Linked DNA regions of Homo sapiens: regions 1 and 2 are each linked to region 3. Evidence: promoter capture Hi-C in 16 types of primary human blood cells and fetal thymus (Javierre and others, 2016). All regions are on one chromosome and are shown on one strand. The core of a region is centred on a gene start or on the middle of the fragment in contact, and the rest is flanking DNA. Distances in the headings are between cores, read along the strand shown.

Region 1 (3,976 bases), core at 1,181-3,680, 490 kb before region 3:
TAGCACTTTTCCAAGAAAACAGGCCCCCTGCACAGGAAACCTAAATTATATTATCCTTATCACCATAAAACCTAACAATACCAACTGGGATAGTCAAAGCTTCAAAGTTTTATGGAATTCAATGCTTTCAAAAATAACTGGTATCAGCCATAAACAGGAATGAAGTATCAATACATGTTACAACACAGATGAACTTTAAGCATTATGCTACGTGAAAGCTGATGCAAATGGCCATATGTTGTACAATTCCATCTACATGAAATGTCCACAATAGGCAAATCTATGCGGACAGAACATGGATTAGTAGTTGCCAGGGGCTGGAGGGAGAAAAGTAAGGCGACTAACTTCTAATGAGGACCGGGTTTCCTTTTTGGGTGATGAAAATCCAGAAGGAGACGGTGGTGGTGGTGGCAGAGCCTTGTGTATACACTAGGAAGCACTGAATTGTACACCTTAACCTGATGAATTTAACGGTCTGTGAATTAAACCTTCACATTCAAAAACCGTAATAGTAAAAAATAGGCTGAGTGCAAATACCCCAACAATCTACTTTGGACCCTAGCAAAGCTGAGTTCTATTCGGTCTCAGGTTGGTGTCCTTTTCTTTGGGTTAAGACCTATTTTTTGAACCAGGAAGGAAGCCAAGTAGGTACATTTGGTTCCTCAGACCCGTAGAAGTAGCTTTAAGAGCTTGTCTTTCTCTAGTTGACTTTTAATCCCAATGGCAGAAGCTGAAACGTTTTTCGTATATTTTAATTGCACTTGGCACCTGTACATCTCTTTCCTCCTCCCTGTGCCCTTGACAGAGCTACCTGTTAGGTGGTGACGAGCAAAGCTAACTCTTAGTGGAGGGACACCGAGTACCAGAGAAATTCTCCCAGCCTAGAAGGCGGGAAGAGCACACTACACACCATTTCTCTAAATTCTCTGAACACTCAAGCCCCAAGCAGCATATGTACAATACCTTTAACACATCTCTTGGCTGACTTCTTGCTGGTGGCTTCTAACTCGATGCCAATTTCATCAGGATCTTGCCCCTCTTCTTTAACCGCCTATTAGGGAGAGATGAGTTTTACAACATCATTAAGAGCTGCAGGGCACACACTGTTCCTTACAAGTAACAACCTCCCATGAAACAAAGGCAAACCCGTCCTTGCAAAGAGCAACTCCGGGTCAGCTATCTGGGCCGCAAGCCCAAAAGGCGGAGGAGGAACCCCGCACAACTTGGGTCTCTCTGGGTCCAAATGACAAAGGAGAGGGAGGCTGTGAGCAGGAGCTCCAGAATTGGGGTCAAGGACCAGTTCCAAAATGGCAACTCAACTCGACAATGCCAAACCTTCGACTTTAAAGTTATATGATGGGACAAATTAGAACAGAGAGGCTGCACTTGGCCCGGCCTCGGTGAAGGGCTGGCCACCGCTGGTGAGGAGGAACAGCAGCCAGCCTGGGGAGATTCAACAGGTCCCTCAGTGCCTGCCACCTGCCGGGTCCAGGACTGGGTACCCACAAGCTCCCTCCCTATGCTCAAGTTGTTTGTTCCAGTTGCGGAAACAGACAATTCCCAACCCCTTAATATTTTGCATTTAGCCCCTGCTTTCAGCGAGGTGCGACACAAACGCAGGATGAGCTGGCAAGGAGGTGGGGCAGCGCATTAGGAAGGGCGCTCAGGAAGGTGATGTCTCAGGCAGACCCAAAATGACAACAAGGGGCCGGCCACGAGAAGATCTGGGGGACCCGGGTGGACAGCTTCGTAAAGGCCAAAGCCCTGGGGCAAGAACAAGCACCGCCCCCTTTCCTGTAAATGCTCTGGAGTCCGCCAGACACCCATTCTCCGGAGGAGGAAACTGAGGCACAGAGAGAAAGGCACCTGCCCAAGGTCACAGAGCCAAGGCTCGATCGGGAGCCCCAGGAGGGGTCCCGGGGCCACCCTGGTAGCGGAGAAGACCGCACGCTGAGCGCGCTTGAGGAGAAAAGGTGGAAAGAGGATAGGAAGGGAGGCACAGAGAGGAGCGGTGACGGGCCAAGGTCACACAGCCGGCCCCCTGGGTGCCCGACACCTCGAACCGGGGTCGGCCAAGACGCGGGGCGAACCCAGGGCGCCCCGGGTCCGGGAGCCGCGGTGACAGGTGCAGGCGGGGGCGTGCCCGGGCCTCCTGCGCCACCCCCGAGCCCCGCGCCGCCTCACCTTCTTGAGCCGCTCCATCAGGACGCTCTTGTTGCCGCCCGTGTCCAGGTTCCGCTTCTTCAGCTCCGCCCGCAGATCGATCACCCGCAGCTCGCTGAGCCGCCTCGTCCCAGTCTCCGCAACGCCCGGGCCGAGAGAAGCCGTGCCAGGGCCCGAGTCGCCCGACCCGGGCAGAGTCTCCGCCATCGTCGCGTTCCCGTCTTCGCCACCGACTCAGTCGCACACCGCCGGCAGCTATAGCGGCTCTGAACACAAAATGGCGCCGCCTAAGAGGAAAACGCACTCGTTTCCTCCCGCCCCGCTTTGCGGCCGCGCACGCGCACGCGCACCGCCCCCACTAGCGTACTTAGCAGCAAGGACGCTCGCGCGTCCACCAACCGCGGGTTCCCCGGCACAACGCGCAAGCGCTGAATCTGCAGCTCGCATGCGTCCCGGCAGTTCCCGGCGGGAGGCTGACGAGACGCAACGCGTCTGCGCACATCCCCGCGTTGTTCTCACTGCGCATGTGCAGTTGCAACCGGGATACTAGAACCTACGCTTGGTGCGCCTGCGCAGAAGCGAGGCGCGCTGGGGCGACTGGAGCGGTTCCCTCGCAGGCGGCGCCATTTTGTGCTAGGAGCCTGATAAAACCGGCCCGGTTCTGTGGAAAGTGGGCGGCGGAGCCAGGGTCCCTGGAATGGCGGAGACTCTGTCAGGCCTAGGTGATTCTGGAGCGGCGGGCGCGGCGGCTCTGAGCTCCGCCTCGTCAGAGACCGGGACGCGGCGCCTCAGCGACCTGCGAGTGATCGATCTGCGGGCGGAGCTGAGGAAACGGAATGTGGACTCGAGCGGCAACAAGAGCGTTTTGATGGAGCGGCTGAAGAAGGTGGATTTGGGGCCCCGAGGGCGGGCACAGGGTGGGTCTGGGGTCCTCTTGGCCGCGACGGTGGCTCGCGGGCCCTGGCGTCCGCCCCCGGCCGCGTTCGCGGCCTCGCCGGACCTGGCGCTCTCGCGTCCCCCGGCTCCTCCGAGGCCCCGGAGAGAGTTCCTTGGCCGGCTGGGCCTGGGTTCAAATCCTAACGCCGCAATGGGGCCAGGAGAACCACAAAAACGGCACGCGTGCAGGAGAAACGGTGACGGGTGACATCGTCCACTGAGAGGAGGGTTCTCCCCTCGTCTCGTCCCCTCCTCCGTACCTGGAGGGGAGACCCTGAAACCCTCACTTCCCAGGCGAGGGGAAGGGACTCGGCCAAGGTCACACGGCCGAGGACGGGCAGCGTCGGGATTTGAACCCAGGCCCTGGGATTCCTGATTCGGCTGCTTGGTTTCCCCAGGGAAGATGCTTTGTGACCCACAGGGGACCGACCAGCCTGAATCGGGGCTGATTTACAAAGGAAACACCCGTAGGACATACTCAAAGGGAAAAATAGAAAAAAACCCACCACAATCCAGTTTTCACGGTTTGCCGGTACTCGCTCGGTGAAGTAACGTGGCAGGAAGGAAAAGTGGTGTTGACGGTAGTGATCAGAAATGTGAAATGAGGGGAGACCCCGGGTGGACTTTAAAACCAGCCTCAGAACTGCCCGGGAGGCGGGCAGAGCCTGGGCTCCCCCAGCTCCGTCAGTCTCTCTGGACTTGGGGACCCTGCCAGCTCTCGGTGGCCTGATCTTGGGCATAGGAGACCTTGAACCCCTTCTGAGTCCTCTTTTCTATTCTTTTTTTTTTTTTTTCTCCTGTAAGAAGCAAAAAAGCAATAGGACTTTGATTTGGGGATTAAATAAGTTTGCGTGGAGCAGGCTTGGCGTGCTGCCTG
Region 2 (4,020 bases), core at 1,045-3,544, 480 kb after region 3:
ACCAGGCAGGGATTTCTGTCTGTTTTGTGCGCGACTGCAGTACCGGAACAGTGCCTGCCCACTGCAGATGTATAATTAGTGCTTGTAGCATGAATGGAGGAAGGGTAGCCTTTCCTGTGAGCGTTTTCGTTTACTAACAAAACCCCTTTGATTCTTCCAAGGGAGGAGATCGAATGTGAAGGACTGAGAGGGAAAGGGAGAGAAAGGTAGTGGATGCCCAGAAACACAAACCTGCTCGCTCTCTCTCTCCTCTCTCTCTCTCTCGTTCTCTCCCTTTTCCTTTTTCTCTTGGGAATGATCTCTTTCTCCCCCGCCCTGTTTTTCTTCTTCCCCCTCTCTGTCTCTGTCTCTTCCTCTCTGTTATTCTCCTTCTCTTTTCCTCTCTCTGGCTTTCTTTCTTTTCTTTCTCTTATTTCTTTTTTTCTCTTTCTTCTTTCTTTTTCCTTTCTCTCTCTCTCACCTCCCTCCCTCTCTCCTTCCTTCCTTCTTCTCTTTCTTTTCCTTCCTTCCTTTCTTTCTTTTTCTTTTCCTTTCTTCTTTTTATTTATTTATTTGACAGAATCTCCCTCTGTCACCCAGGCTGGAGAGCAGTGCCATTATCTTGGCTCACTGCAACTTCTGCCTCCCAGGTTCAGGCGATTCTCCTGCCTCGGCCTCCTGAGTAGCTGGGATTACAGGTGCCTGCCACCACACCCGGCTAATTTTTGTAATTTTAGTAGAGACGGGGTTTCACCATGTTGGCCAGGCTGGTCTCAAACTCCTGGGCTCAAGTGATCCACCCGCCGCGCCCTCCGAAAGCGCTGGGATTACAGGCTCCAGCAACCACGCCAGGTCGCCTCTCTCGTTTTTATTCTCTCTTCCTCTATCTGTCTTTTTTCTCTTTCTCCGTCTCTCTCCCTCTCTCTCGTTCTGTCTCCCCCGCCTGTCTCCCTCCCTCCCTCTTCCACTCTCCCTGCGTCTCTCCCTGTTTCTTTCTTTCCCCTTCTTCTCCTGTCCCGTCTGTCCCCTCTGTCCCTCTCTCTGTTCTTTTTTCTGTCTCTCCCTCCCTTTCTCTGGGCCTCTCCCTCCCTCTCTGTCTTCTCTCTGTCTCCCCCTCTCCGTTTCCCTCCCTATCTCTCCCTCCCTCTCTCCCTCCGTCTCTGTCTGTGTCTCTTTCTCTCTGTCTCTCCCCACTTGTCTTTCTACCTCTCCTTCCTTCTCTCTCTGTGCCTCTTCTTCTCCCCGTCCCTCCACGTCCCCCGTGTTACCTGTGTGATTCAGCTGCAGCTCAGCTACGTCCCACTGGAAGAAAAGACCAGAAAACAGGGCACGGACGTAAGCAGAGAGGTTCTATGTGTCCCCTGTGCCAGGAGCTCTCTTTTCTCTGTCCATCCTCCTTTCCACCTCTCATCCCACGGCGCGCACTGGTGATTTTATTTCATTTTATTTTTTTTTACTCTTAAGACTTCTTAAAGAGGAAGCAGGTCTGAACCAGCGGGGAACGTGAAGTCGAGACCTTCAAAAGAACTTCTTCGTTTCCCGAATCGTTTTCCTGGATGTCACTGGGCGCGAGAGCACCGCGCGCAGCGGACTCTCTACGCTGCAAAGGCGCCCGGCGCGGTCCCCAAAGGGACCCCTCCCCCACCCGGAGCGAGTGGCTGGGGCCATCCCGTCCTAGGAGGCCCCAGGAAGCCCCCACGCCCAGCCTTGTGAAGCCCCCAGCAGCCTCTGAGTCAGCCTGCCGGGGGAACACCAGAGCCGAGTCATCTTCCATTTCCATGTGTGCCTACCTTTCCCATCCCGGGATCTCCCTGTACCTCCTGGCAGGGCTGCCTGTCTCGTAGCCCCTACACCGGGCAGCCTGGTCCCCGCCTCGCCTCCCTGTTCTGGTCTCTGTCTCTGCCCTACCAGATCTTCCTCTCTGGCCTCTTTGTACCCATCTCATTCTGTCTTTTCGGTCACGCGCCTCTCTATGTTTTCTTCCCAACTTTTCCATCTCAACTCACCCCAAGTGACTCGAGCGGCAGCTGCTGCTGAGCCTGTGCGAAGCGCTGGATGCACACCACGAGGCAGATCACCAAGCCCGCGACCAATGGGACCAAAGCAGCCCGCAGGACGCACCCATAGGGCCTGCGCCGCACCGAGCAGCCCGAACCCTCCTCCGGCATCGCCGCGGCGATCACCTCCGCTAGCGCAGGAGGGGCGATGGGGGCGCGGAGCGCTGCCGAGAAGGAAGGAAGGAAACTGCAGCCCCCTCCCGGGGCTCCTGGGCGTCTACTTGCTTCAACCTGTCAGGGGACCAGCCTGCCCCTCTCTGGGGATGTCCGGCCGGTCGAGGGGAGGGACTTGAGCAATTGGCGAGGGGAAATTCCCTCCAACCGCTGCCAGTCTGAAGATCCTAAAGTGGGTGGAGGCAGTTGCCAGGATGCAGGCAGTGGCCCCGGGTGAGCCTCAGAGTTGCCTGCCCCCAACCCCTCCCCGCCCGACCTTCAGGCAGGAGACATTCAATCTTCCTATTCCCCTCTCCACCTCATTCTTCTGGGGCCCATTCATTTATTCAACAAACCTCCACTGCACATTTATTAGGGATTAGATTGTGCTGTGCACTGGGGATACAGCAGACATCCAAGAATTGGGGGTGCTCCCCAAATATTCGTGTACCCCTCTCCTGCATTTTTTTGATTTGTTTTGTTTTTGAGACGGAGGTCTCCCTCTGTCACCCAGGCTGGAGTGCAGTGGCGCCATCTCAGCTCGCCGCAACCTCGATCTCCTGGGTTCAAGCGATTCTCCTGTCTGAGCCTCGCGAGTAGCTGGGAGTAACATGCGCGCGCCACCATGCCTGGCTAATTTTTTGTATTTTTAGTAGAGATGGGGTTTCACCATGTTGGCCAGGCTGGACTTGAACTCCTGACCTTGGGTGATCCACCCGCCTTGGCCTTCCAAAGTGCTGGGATTAAAGGCATGAGACACTGCACCCGGTCAGTTATCTCCTGCATTCTTGGAGACCACCTGCTTTTTTGTTTAAAGTTAAATTAAGTTAATATTTTTATTTTTTATTTTTATTTTATTTTATTATTTATTTTTTTTTTTTTTGAGACAGAGTCTCGCTCTGTCGCCCAGGCTGGAGTGCAGTGGCGCCATCTCGGCTCACTGCAAGCTCCGCCTCCCGGGTTCACGCCATTCTCCTGCCTCAGCCTCTCAAGTAGCTGGGACTACAGGCGCCCGCCACCACGCCCGGCTAACTTTTTGTATTTTTAGTAGAGATGGGTTTTCACCATGTTAGCGAGGATGGTCTCCATCTCCTGACCTCGTGATCTGCCCGCCTTGGCCTCCCAAAGTGCTGGGATTACAGGCGTGAGCCGCCGCGCCCGGCCTAAATTAATATTTTTAGAGACAGAGTGTTGCTCTGTTGCCCAGGCTGGATGCAGTGGCGCCACACAGCTCACAGCAGCCTCAAACTCCTGGGCTTCAGTGACCCTCCCATCTCAGCCTTTTGCATAGTTGGGTCTACCAGCACACGCTACCATGCCCGGCTAATTTTTTTTTTGGGGGGGGTAGAGGATAGGGTGTTACTATGTTACCAGGCTGGTCTCAAACATCTGGGCTCAAGCGATCCTGCTGCGTAGGTCCCCCAAAGTGCCGGGATGACAGGTGTGAGCCACCGCATCCAGCCTCCTGCTGCTGTTCTCGATGGCTGTAGTGGGTTAACGGTGTCCTCCCAGAATTCATGGCCTCCTGGAACTGCAGAATATGACCTCATTTTGAAATTACGGGGTTTTTTTTGCAGATATAATTAGGCTTAAATGAGGTCATACTGGATTAGAGTGGGCCCTCAGGTGGAGAGAAAAGAGGCTCATAGAGAAGGAGCCGTGTGAAAACAGAAACAGAAACTGAATGAGGCAGATGAAAGTCAAGAAACACCAAGAAGGAGCCAGGCGCAGTGGCTCACGCCTGTAATCCCAGCACTTTGGGAGGCTGAGGCAGGCGGATCACTTGATATCAGGAGTTTGAGACCCTCCTGGCTAACACGGTGAAACCCCC
Region 3 (3,936 bases), core at 643-3,142:
CTCATCGAAGCCTGCGCTGGTCATTTATGATACAAAGCAGGAAAATAATTGCAGGGAGGCACAATGCTAACAACACCCCAAAGTAGGAATGAAGCCTGGGGGGGCGGGGGTAAGGCAGCCAGCCCTGGGTCCCGAGCTCCATCTTGCCCTCTCCCCTCCCCATTCTTGCCGCACAACCAGGAGGTTAAAATAGGAAGATGAACCGCGCCGGCAGCCGCCAGAATGGCCCGGGCGCTTGGGGCCCTCGGGGGCCCTTGAAATAGCCACTAGGATCGGGAAATCCAACTTTCCCAGCGGTGCAGCGAGGAAAACCAAAAGGAACGGAGCCGGAGGCTGGTGGCGAGGGAGCGCGGAGGCTTCTCGGAGGGAGGAAAAAGAAAGAAATGAGCATTTGGGGTGTGAGTGAGTGTGTGTGTGTGAGTGTGTGTGTGCGCCCGCGAGCGCGCTGGTGGGCGGTGGGGGCAGGGGGTGGAGTTTAAATCCACAAACACACACACGCACTCGCACTACCTCGGAGAAAATGCCTGGAGCAGTTTAGGTTCTTTAACAAAATAAATAAATTGAAAAAAAAAAAAAGTTTCACTCGCGTTGGTGAAACTTTTCTCCCTTCCAGATCAGTCCTAAGAGGAGAGCTGCGGACGTGCGGAGGGGCATCTTGGGGGCACGTGGAAAGACTGGCGGACGCACGAACCCCTATACTCAGGAATATGGGGTCACAGGGAGAAGGGGAGGGGGTGTCCGAGGCGACCTGAACGCGAGGATTTGGGGCAAAAAGGTGAGAAACAGTTCCCGGGGAAGCTCGCTCGGGGAGTTTGGGATGAAAAGGTGAGAAGGGCAAGAGGGGTTCTCCCCAGGGCAGACGCACCAGCTTTTAGTTAAGGAATGAGAAAAAGGTTCCAGGGGTGCCCCCAAATTCAGTATGTCTGGGAGTCCATTAAAAAGGGGGTCCCCGGGACAAGTCAGATCTAGGAATTTGGGGTAAAAATGAGAAGGGAGTCTTCGAGGTCCCCCCGATGCAAGAAGTTTGCGACTAAGAGTGACAGAAGGGCTCTGGGGTCACCCCAATTTCGGAGGTTTGGGGAGTAAAGTAAGAAGAGGGCCCCAGGTGGCCCCAATTCAGGGAGTTTGAGGGTATGAGTAAAAGAGGGGTCCCCGGGTGTCCCCATCTCAGAGATCTGGGGAGTAAAAGTGAGGAGAGGGTCCCCAAGCGCCCCCAATTCAGAGAATTCGAGGGTTTGAGTAAAAGAAGGGTCCCTGGGTGCCCCCAACTCAGAGATCTGGGGAGTAAACGTGAGAAGAGGGTCCCCTGGCGCCCCCAATTCAGAAAATTCGAGGGTATGAGTAAAAGAGGGGTCCTTGGGTGCCCCCAACTCAGAGATCTAGGGGGTTAAGGTGAGAAGAGGGTCCCCAAGCGCCCCCAATTCAGGGAGTTTGAGGAGTTTGAGAGACGTTCCCGGGGCGCCCCCAACTCAGCGAGTTTGAAGGTAAGCGTGAGAAAGGGGTCCCCGGACGCCCCAACCTCAGGAAGTTTTGTAAAAAGTGAGGCGACGGCACCGCACCTCCCCCGCGTTCAGTCAATAAGGAAAGTGGGGACGTCGCCAGGGTCCCCCCAAACTCCGCCGCGCGCGCGGACGGGGTGGCGGAGGCGGGTCCCGCGGGCGCACCACCCGGACGTTTGGGGTGAGCGGCGGGGACGTGCTGCCCGCCCCCCGGCCCCCGAACGGGGTCCCCGCCGCCCCCCACACTCCCCGGCCGGGCTGGGCCCGGGGCGGTCGCATCGGTCACCTGGAGTTCGGGCCGGGAGTTCGGGCAGCGGCTCCCGCGGCGGCGGCAGCGGCTGCTGCGTGTTGGTCCCCGTTGGTAAGTAACAGTCTCCACGGCTACAGTCTCTATGGCGGCGGCGGTGGCGGCGGCGGCCGCTCCTCCTCCGGCTCCCGCCGCCAGCCAGCCTCGCGCAGCCCGCCCGCCCGACGGGGCGGGGCGTTGTTACCGGCAACGGTTACCAGGCTCCGCGCCCCACCTTCCTAACGGCCCGCCCACGCTCGCCTCCAACGGGCCCCCAAGAGGGCGGGGCGCGAGACCCTACGGCGTTCCATTGGCTGTCTGCAGAGTCTGTCGGAAGGAGGAGGCGTTCCCCCTTGAAAAAGAGTGCGAGACTCGGCCAATGGCCGCGAAGAGGGGCGGGTCTTGGCGGGAGGCGCGCGCGGCTCAGAGGGTTGGCGAACCGGTCGCGCGCGCGGCGCCGTGGGTTGGTGGCGCGTTTTGGGAAAGTCCAGTTTTAGGGGACCCAAGGGACTCCGTTTACCCCACAGGAGGAGTGTGGGACATGTGGGAACAGTCTGATCAGGGGTCAGCAAACTCTCGCTCGCCGCCTGTTTTTCACGGACCCCCAGCTGAAAATTTAAATATATATATATTTTTTACATGGTTAAAAGAAACTATCGGCCGGGCGCGGTGGCTCACGCCTGTAATCCCAGCACTTTGGGAGGCTAAGGCGGGTGGATCACGGAGTCAGGAGATCGAGACCATCCTGACTAACACGGTGAAACCCCGTCTCTACTAAAAATACAAAAAATTAGCCGGGCGTGGTGGCAGGCGCCTGTAGTCCCAGCTACTTGGGAGGCTGAGGCAGGAGAATGGTGCGAACCTGGGAGGCGGAGCTTGCAGTGAGCCGAGATCGCACCACTGCACTCCAGCCTGGGCGACAGAGCGAGACTCCGTCTCAAAAAAAAAAAAAAGAAAGAAAGAAAAAAAAAGAAACTATCAAAAGGAGCTTTTGTGGGGTGTGAACCTGATAGGAGACTCTCTTTTATTGTATTGGGCCCAGTATTTTGAACTAGTTTAAAGATTGGCAAACTGCGGCCTGCGGGTCAAATTCTGCCTGCTTGGGTTTGTAAATAAAGCTTTATTGGAACATAGCCACGCCCATTTCCTTGAACAGCTTGGAAGGCTGCTTTGACACTACAGGGGCGGAGTGGAGTAGTTGCGCAAAGACGGCATGTCCCACGCGAAGCCTAAGATATTTACTATACGGTCCTTTACAGAAAATGTTTGCCAAACTCACCAGCCCTCCTCTCAAGCTGGTAGATTCAGCTACGAGTAGGACAGAAACAGACAGATCCTCATAGAACTTTTATTCTAGTGAGGGAACATTGACAGCAAACAGAATAAAGAGGTAAACATATAGTTATTCGAGACAAGGGGCTGGAAGAATAGGAGAAAACAACTTGTACTGAGAAAAGGCAGGAGATTAGGCTTCAGCCCCACTCATTCATTCAACAAGAAATCATATTAGTGAGCACTGATTAAATTGCTATGTGCCTGAAAGTGATCTAAGCATTTTTTAAATATGCAAACTCATTAAATCTTACAATCGCATCTTTAGAAAGATGCTAGGCATTATCCCCGTTTTTATTTGTTTTGTTTTTTCTTTTTTTTTTTTTGAGACAGAGTCTCTCTCTGTCACCCAGACTGGAGTGCAGTGGTGCGATCTGGCTCGCTCACTGCAACCTCTGTCTCCCGGGTTCAAGTGATTCTCCTGCCTCAGCCTCTCAAGTAGCTGGGACTACAGGCGCCCGCCACCACGCTCAGCTAATTTTTGTATTTTTAGTAGAGACGGGGTTTCACCATGTTGGCCAGGCTGGCCTGGAACTCCTGACCTCAAGTGATCCGCCCGCCTTGGACTCTCAAAGTGCTAGGATTACAGGCATGAGCCACCATGCCCGGCCTTTCCCCATTTTTCAGATCAGGAAGCTGAGGCCCAGAAAGAATGAGTGAATTTGCCCAGTGTCAAACAGCTTGTGAGGGATCGGAACCCTAGTAGTCTAGTGCCAAAGTCCATGCTCTTGATCACTAGATGGGTGGTTTTCAAACATTTTTGACCACAGCATACAGCAGGAAATACATTTTACCTAGGGGCTCAGTCCACACAAACAT

Evidence for each region. The method cuts DNA at HindIII sites, captures the fragments that hold promoters and counts their contacts. A CHiCAGO score of 5 or more calls a contact.
Region 1: the fragment with the promoter of SAFB2 here is called in contact with the fragment with the promoter of RFX2 in region 3 in 6 of 17 cell types (activated CD4 T cells, total CD8 T cells, non-activated CD4 T cells and 3 more); the score reaches 8.0 in activated CD4 T cells.
Region 2: a contact is called between the fragment with the promoter of CD70 here and the fragment with the promoter of RFX2 in region 3, in 2 of 17 cell types (erythroblasts and total B cells). The highest score is 6.4, in erythroblasts.

Annotation. Positions count from the first base shown.
Region 1 is chr19:5,620,346-5,624,321 of GRCh38, forward strand. It overlaps SAFB2 (scaffold attachment factor B2), which reads right to left and starts at 2,431. Exons shown (of 21, transcript NM_014649.3): 1 at 2,185-2,431; 2 at 964-1,051. The coding sequence starts at 2,370. It overlaps SAFB (scaffold attachment factor B), which reads left to right and starts at 2,738. Exons shown (of 21, transcript NM_001201338.2): 1 at 2,738-3,049. The coding sequence starts at 2,861. RefSeq lists silencers at 831-1,051, 2,056-2,175, 3,146-3,195 and enhancers at 970-1,702, 2,176-2,515, 2,436-3,168, 3,169-3,900. The HindIII fragment of the contact is 4,337 bases long and covers 98-3,976 here.
Region 2 is chr19:6,588,856-6,592,875 of GRCh38, forward strand. It overlaps CD70 (CD70 molecule), which reads right to left and starts at 2,295. Exons shown (of 3, transcript NM_001252.5): 1 at 1,986-2,295; 2 at 1,248-1,281. The coding sequence starts at 2,147. RefSeq lists enhancers at 1-16, 1,195-1,564, 2,065-2,464, 3,535-3,994, 4,015-4,020. The HindIII fragment of the contact is 5,862 bases long and covers 1-4,020 here.
Region 3 is chr19:6,108,608-6,112,543 of GRCh38, forward strand. It overlaps RFX2 (regulatory factor X2), which reads right to left and starts at 1,893. Exons shown (of 18, transcript NM_000635.4): 1 at 1,786-1,893. RefSeq lists an enhancer at 407-907 and a silencer at 1,755-2,214. The HindIII fragment of the contact is 2,952 bases long and covers 1-2,901 here.